Regions from separate parts of the Homo sapiens genome. Here region 1 is linked to region 2. The links are contacts of gene promoters, found by promoter capture Hi-C in blood cells and fetal thymus (Javierre and others, 2016). All regions are on one chromosome and are shown on one strand. The core of a region is centred on a gene start or on the middle of the fragment in contact, and the rest is flanking DNA. Distances in the headings are between cores, read along the strand shown.

What was found. Contacts are between HindIII fragments. The CHiCAGO score rates a contact against its expected background, and 5 or more counts as called.
Region 1: a contact is called between a fragment that was not itself captured here and the fragment with the promoter of ZKSCAN1 in region 2, in 3 of 17 cell types (erythroblasts, M1 macrophages and M2 macrophages). The highest score is 6.9, in erythroblasts.

Annotation. Positions count from the first base shown.
Region 1 is chr7:99,561,197-99,564,882 of GRCh38, reverse strand. All of the region lies in intron 2 of ZNF655 (zinc finger protein 655), which reads right to left. Among named protein-coding and RNA genes, the nearest start is that of ZNF655, 4.4 kb to the right of the region's middle. The HindIII fragment of the contact is 3,376 bases long and covers 1-3,219 here.
Region 2 is chr7:100,013,145-100,017,060 of GRCh38, reverse strand. It overlaps ZKSCAN1 (zinc finger with KRAB and SCAN domains 1), which reads right to left and starts at 1,465. Exons shown (of 6, transcript NM_003439.4): 1 at 1,335-1,465. RefSeq lists a silencer at 1,210-1,379. The HindIII fragment of the contact is 19,683 bases long and covers 1-3,916 here.

The DNA of each region.
Region 1 (3,686 bases), core at 282-2,781, 450 kb after region 2:
TTCTTGCACTGTGCGTGTCTCTTGTATGTGTAAAAGTGTGTATGCATGTCGACTGCATGTCGAGTGTGCAGTGCAGAGATAAGAGAGGAAATGGGATAAAGTTCAGTCTATAGCATACTATGCTATTAGACTGCATTAAACTGCTACAAAGTTTCTTTACTCCAAAAAGTAGACAGGTTAACTGTTGGAAACTCTGTAATTATTAGATAAAATTAACAGTACTTTACAATTATATGTATGTCACTTTACAGTTTACAAAGTTATTAAGTAGATATTCAATTTGATGCCCTGAAATAAATTTAACTTCTTTGCCCTCCCTTCTCCCCTCCATCAAGGACAGAGTAAGGAACACTTAATCAGGAAAGGCAATATAATTGCATCAATCTGTACAGAACCACAAAGAATAAAGGGTAGGAAGGTAGGACCTTGAAGAGGGCCACAGGGACTTCAAGGAAGGAGGAAACCAGAATGTTAAACATGAGGGAAGCCCAGGGTTCACAGGAGAGTTAGGCACCATACGGGGCAGGTTGTGTTCGCCACATAAAAGGAGGGGCACACAGCATAAGTTTCACATTCTAAAATAATATGAAAAGACCATAACTGAAGAGCTGAATTTGGAATTTCTGGTTTTTCACAATACAAGTAGATGATGACCACCAACCATGGTTTCTGAATGAACTGGGTTCAAAACATATCTGGTTGCAACAGAGGGCTTCCTTGGACCCTAACATTTGAAATTAAACAGAGGTAATTTGAGGAGCTGCGATTTTACACAGTGGTGGCATCCTGGGGAGCTTCTATTCCATCAGTCAATTTTAATATCTCACAATCGTGGAAAAGGAGTTTCCGAGCAGGGACGAGCAATATCGATGGGAAGCCGATACTTGGGCCATCTCTTGGAGATTCCTGCTGTAAGGACGGCAAGTGTTTCTCCAGAGAAAGCACTTGCCTGGGTATGACTCAGGGCCGGGCAGGAATTCACACTATGAATCCGGGTGGTGGGAAGGCGGAGAAGTATGCCTACAAAGATTAAAGAGCCAGGAATGGAAAACACACTAAAAACCGTCCCAGTGGGCAGCCTGCCTCCCCACAAATAAGAAGACCTTGAATCCTGAGCATAATCAGGGAGACAAAGCAATGCCCTGGATGCCACCAGCATAGACAAAGCCAACGGAAAAAAAAAAAAGAAAAGAAAATGCATGATTCAGTATTTACACACACAAAAAGAAGAGTGCAGAAGCAAGCAAGAAACTAAAGAAAAAGGAGGCTGGGTGCGGTGGCTCATGCCTGTAATTCCAGCACTTTGGGAGGCCAAGGAAGGTGGATCACTTGAGGTCAAGAGTTCGAGATCAGCCTGACCAGCATGGTGAAACCCCGTCTCTACTAAAAATACAAAATTAGGCGGGCGTGGTGGCCCATGCCTGTAATCCCAGCTACTTGGGAGGCTGAGGCAGGAGAATCGCTTGAACCTGGAAGGCAGAGGTTGTAGTGAGTTGAGATTGCACCACTGCACTCCAGCCTGGGCAACAAGAGTGAAACTCCATCTAAAAATAAAATAAAATAAAAAATATAATATAATATAAAAAATAAACTAAAGAAAAAGGAACAATGCTCACACCAAGGGAGCTGCCGACAAACCCCACTGATGCTTCCCAGCAGCACTACAGCTTGGCTAATCCCAGCTTCCCACTGTACCTTTCAAAATGACAAGGGAGAGACATGAGTTAAGCATTGACCCCACCTCAGCATGGGGTAAACATCTGAGATTTCTGCTGCCCTGGGTGTGGTTACGTGGGATTACCATTCTGGGTGACTCACTGAAATGTACTCACAGTGAGTCATGCCTTCAAATGACATCTCAAGTTCTGCCTGCTTGGAGATACATCTGGGGATCTTAAGGGGTGAGGGACTACTCAACAAGAAGGAATTTAGCCTGTCTTTTTAAATAAACGGCATTTCTTTTTCCTAGAAAAATGGGAAATTCTTCAATTCTCTAATACAGGGACACTGAGATAACAAAGAGGAAAGTGTCTGGTTGGAGGTTGGGAGGCCACCCTGGGGTCTCTCCTACAAAAATGGAAAAGAAAAGAACGGTGAGAAATCAAGCAAAGCACAAGAAAGTTTCCCTTTGCTAAAAGGGAAAAGATGCCCCACAATGGCCATAAACATGAACTGGGGATAAGGAGGAGAATGTCTCTTCTTGGCACCCCCAAACAAACGTTAATTACCCCTCCCGGAGAAGACGATGTGAAAGATAAGGATTCAGAGGTTCTAAGTCCTGGAATCTAAGCCACACTCTACAGACCTTCTCAGAGACCTTATACTTAGGAAGAAACAAGAAAGTAAAGAAATTCAAATAGATAAACCGAATAATAAGGAAGTCCTTACCCAGTGAGACCACGTTCCCATAATTCTCTAACATCACTTCTCTGTAGAGGTCCCTCTGAACAGGGTCCAGGTATCCCCATTCCTCTCGAGTAAGGTGCACAGCCACATCCTCGAATGTCACAAACTCCTGAAATAACACATCCTGGCTGCTCTGAGGAATGAGAACACTGTAGCACCATGGCCAGAGAATGAAGATCATAGAGAGGGTATCCACTGTGTACTTACGTTGAGGAGGAGGGAGAACAGATTAGAACCTACGGAATAAAGCCCATAACCCTTAAACATCTAATAAGCACCCATCACACAACCATGGACAAAGAGAAAACAGAGTTTGCTCATGGCACTGGGGAGATGGGAAGTTGGTTTATGTGAAGTCCAGGTCTCCGAAGAGGATCAATTCCCAAACTGGAGTCTGCTATTGAAAAAAATTCCAGGCAAGGTCTACAGATGGGATGAGAGAGAGGCCACACTCCATCAGTAGCAATAGTCCCTGAGGAAAAGCAGAGGGTTCCTCAGCTCACCTGGTACCTGGCTGTCAAGAGCGCAGCTGCCTGGTCTCCTGGGCTTCCCTCACGGGGAAGAGCAGGCACCTGAGGAACAGGTGGAGCTGAGGGAGGAGAAAGGAGTGAAGAGTGAGAGCAGCCCTTTCCCAGGGCTCCCTTTCAGAGGAGGCCTCTCCAGCCCAAGGGGTGTCAGCAGGACCCTCCTCAATACTCTAGTAAAACCAATGAACATTTTTCAGGTATTGGGTGTGTCTACTCTGCTTCGTCTCAGTACTTGCATGCCTTATGCGTGTTTTGACCTGTGATACAGGATTTTCTTAGGAAAGCTTGTATTTCACTTTATCTTCATCACATGACAGTCCTCTTACAGAAGAGTAAGACTATACCTGTTTTGCAGATGGGCAAAGCAAAGCATAAAGACTTGTGGGGACTTGTCCTGGGCTAGGGTTATTTAGCAGACTTCTGACCCTTTCCAGGCACTGTTCTAGACACTTGATCAGCGTTTCTCTTGTGAATGGGTGCTGTCTCAACCAGTGTGTAAGGCCCCCAAGAACAAGAAAGGGTCATCTGTTTCCTCGAAATCTTTTCCACAGTCCCACAATCCCCCACAGCACTCTACACATTGTGGCACTTGATCTGTGTGGGTGACACACAAGTTATTTCAGGCACTAGAGTTAACCACAGGCAATCTAAGACACAGCTCTTATAAAACAAAGGAAGAAAAAGACCAACCTACCTATACGATACAGCAAAGTGTGACTGCGTAGTCAAAATACAGTATATATACATTCATAC
Region 2 (3,916 bases), core at 216-2,715:
TAAATGCTTTTAAATCGAGAATGAGCAAAAGACTAAGTAGCTAGCTTCCTCGTTTGTATTTTAAGAGTGGTGAAAACTGCCTGAAATAATAAACAAGAATCTTATATGTTAATTCAGAGAAGATACAAACCTGGATACACATTCTGGGGCAAATCACCATGGTTTCCTATGTAAAACAGCGATTTCTCCACATTTGTTCAGCATATATACTAACAGTGCTTTGCTGATGTGGTTACAATGAATTCTCCACAATTCAATTCAACAAGTATTTATTGACCGCCTCCAATCCGCCTAGCACTGGCCCGTACAATAAATGCTTTCTTTGGTCCCAGGCCATGGAACAGCCACTCTCTATAATGAAAGTATCTTACTGTGTACAGGGGGCACTGCAGGAAAGGGAGGGGAGGGATGGAGGAGTGTCAAGCTAAACTGTAGTTAATTCTTCAATTACATTGACCAAATCATTTCGAAGTCGGAAGGGCCTTTTGAGAAAATCCAGTTAGTTTTTATTGATGACGAAATTAAGACTTGGTGAGTGTCTCGTCTTATCCAAGGTCACTCAGCTAATCAGTCTCCTAGTGACACAGTGCAATTTCCACAAATTCCCTTCACTTCTCACCCCACTCCATGTCAAACAGAGCAACTATCCAGAATTGAAAAATCCACCTAACGTCCCGGACAGCTCTTTTCCAAAGCCTTCAAAGCATTCCATCAAGCTGAAAGAGTGGGGTGTATATAATCTCTACTAGATCCCAATCACCTATTTATCCACTATGACTAGGCTTCAAATACTCTTTAATCACCGCTCAGTGATGAGGGTGGGAGAAGGAAAGGCAGGTCTGGAAACGTATGCGGCACCTCAAAATGTGTCCATCTCTCATCCTTCCGCTCATTTCACCTCGAGGTCCCGAAGGAACCGGGGGGGGAAAAAGACACCTCACCGGAATCAAAGCAAATGGCGACTAAGGGAGAGCAGAAAAATCAAGACCGGGGTCGGTTCGCTCGCGACCCCGTTTGCAGAAACGTCAAAGGGCGATGACGACACTGCGGGAGAGGGGCCCACAGACGGCTTCTCCCCGGGTCTCCGGGCACCCTCAGCCACTGAAACCCTCGCCCCCTCCCCGCCTGATCCTGGGGGTGGGGCGGGGACGTCTCCCAGGAAGAACGGCGCTTTCTACGGCCGGGCCCGGCCAGGAGGCAGGGGCATGGACTCTCTTCGCACAACAGCGGGGCCGCCTGGAGGGGGTCCCAGGGCCGCAGCTGCGGAGCCCACCCTCGCGCACACACCCTTGCGGCCCCGCCCTCCCACCCCAGAGGCCGGCCCCAAGTCTCACCGTGAGCCCCGGGAGCGGCCTGGGGGCGCTGGGCGAGAAAGGGGAGCTGACTCTGGGGCTCAGGCCGGCCGAAGGGCACCGCACACGGACTTAGGCCCTCCCGACGCCTCGACACAGACACAATGAGTCACAAAGGCCGGAAGCGTGTCACCACCTCGTCTTCCGGGACCGCGCCGCGCTTCCGGGTCCTCTCTAGGAGCGCGGGAGGACTTTGCATCTCGGTTTCCGAATCGCTGGACCAGGCGCCTGCCCTTGAGTTTTCAAGCCTCCAGCTTGGAGGATCAGGTCCCAGTCCGCCCCTAGTTAATGCAGGGACTAACGGGAGCAGGTGGTGGGGGGTTTCAGGCTTTCCCCTACTCAAACTCAAACAGACTCTCCAGCTCAGACACCAGTCCATGTGAAAGTTCGATTTCACCTGTCTTTTTCATCTCAGGCAGTCCTTGTAGTAATTATAGTTATTATCAAGCAATATAGTACTTGGTAATTGTATGTCTGTGGCAAAGGAACTGAAACAAGGATGTAGACTGAGGAAGATCAAAGTGAAGCCAAGGGTGGCTGGTTTCCCAAAGCTGCCACGGTAGCTTCTCTCAGGGCCCTGGAGCTATATGGAGTGGTATTTTCAAATACTTGGCCCGTGGACAAGGGATGTCTTTCCACAAGCAAGCATAGTTATAAGGTTCTGTGCTTTGCTCATGTGGCATATGCTATTATAGCCGTTTAAAAGGAGTTTTCAGAGTAACAACAGACACTTTTACCTTCAAAGTGCTTTCACAACCTACCACAGTTACAGCCTTCATCTTTGCCTTGCAGGGTAAGGCACGCATAAGAGGGGGCCACGTTGTGCAAGGGTGGGGGGGACTACAGGCTTTAATGGTTGTGACTTTCCACTATGTTCCGAGACAAGTTCATGGGAGAAACTCAGTAGCTTGGTTGCATGACTCTTACTGCTTGGAGAGATTTACTTTTTTTTTTTAGATGGAGTCTCGCTCTGTCACCCAGCCTGCAGTGCAGTGGCACCATCTTGGCTCACTGCAACCTCCACCTCCCAGGTTCAAGCGATTCTCCTGCCTTAGCCTCCTGAGTACCTGGGACTACAGGCGCACACCACCATGCCTGGTTAATTTTTGTATTTTTGGTAGAGAACAGGGTTTCACCATATTGGCCAGGATGGTCTCGATCTACTGACCTTGTGATCCACCCGCCTCAGCCTCCCAAAGTGCTGGAATTACAGGCGTGAGCCACCGTGCCCGGCCAGATTTACTTTTTAAAAAATGTTTGAAAACTAAAAAGCAATGACAGGGCCAGACACGATGACTCAAGCCTGTAATCTTAGCACTTCGGGAGGCTGGGACGGGAGGATTCTTGAGCCCAAGAGTTGGAGACCAGCCTAAGCAACGTAATGAGACCCTCTCTCTACAAAAAATACTAAAATTAGCTGGGTGCAGGGTAGTGTGTGCCAGTGGTCCCAGCTGCTTGGGAGGCTGAGGTAGAAGGATAGATTGAGCCCAGGAGGTTGAGGCTGCAGTGAGCTATGATTGTGCCATTGCACCCCAGTCTGGGCCACAGAGCAAGATCCCATCTCAAAAAAGAAAAAAAGGGCCGGGCACGGTGGCTCATGCCTGTAATCCCAGCAGTTTGGGAGGCCAAGGTGGGTGGATCACGAAGTCAAGAGATTGAGATCATCCTGGCCCATATGGTGAAACCCCGTCTCTACTAAAAATACAAAAATTAGCTGGGCGTGGTGGCACACGCCTATAGTCCCAGCTACTTGGGAGGCTGAGGCAGGAGAATCGCTTGAACTCCAGAGGCGGAGGCTGCAGTGAGCCGAGATCGTGCCACTGCTCTCCAGCCTGGGGACAGAGCTAGACTCTGTATCCAAAAAAGAAGCAACAACAGTATCATTAAAGGAAATTTGCAAAATGGAGAAAAATAATTACCGGTAATCTCTCCACCCTAACACAATCCCCATGGCTTTAGTTTACCTTTTTCCTGTTTTCATATACAAATAAATATTTATTGATATTATTTTAAACACTGTTCAAAACCATAGTTGCAGTTGTATTGAAGAGGAGGCTGGTATCCTGGAAGTATCTGCTACATTCATATCATGTGAACACTGTTTTTTAAGGAAGAGAAAATATATTTACTATTCAGTAAGTGGAAATAGATCATCATCAAGGTCTTCATACTCATCGTCTTCACACTGAGTAAGCTGAGGAGGAAGAGGAAGGGTTGCTCTTGCTGTCTCAGGGGTGGCAGAGGCAGGAAGTGATCCACCAGCCTCGGCCTCCCAAAGTGCTAGGATTACAGGTGTGAGTCACTGCACCTGGCCTCTTTTCTTTCTTTTTTTTTGAGAGAGTTTCCCTCAGTTGCCATGTTGGAGTGCAATGGCGTGATCTCAGCTCACTGCAACCTCCGCCTCCTGGGCTCAAGTGATTCTCATGCCTCAGCCTCCCAAGTAGCTAGGATTACAGGTGTGCACTCACCATGCCTGGCTAATTTGTGTATTTTTAGTAGAGATGGGGTTTTACCATGTTGGCCATGCTGGTCTCGAACTCCTGGCCTCAAGTGATCCACCCACC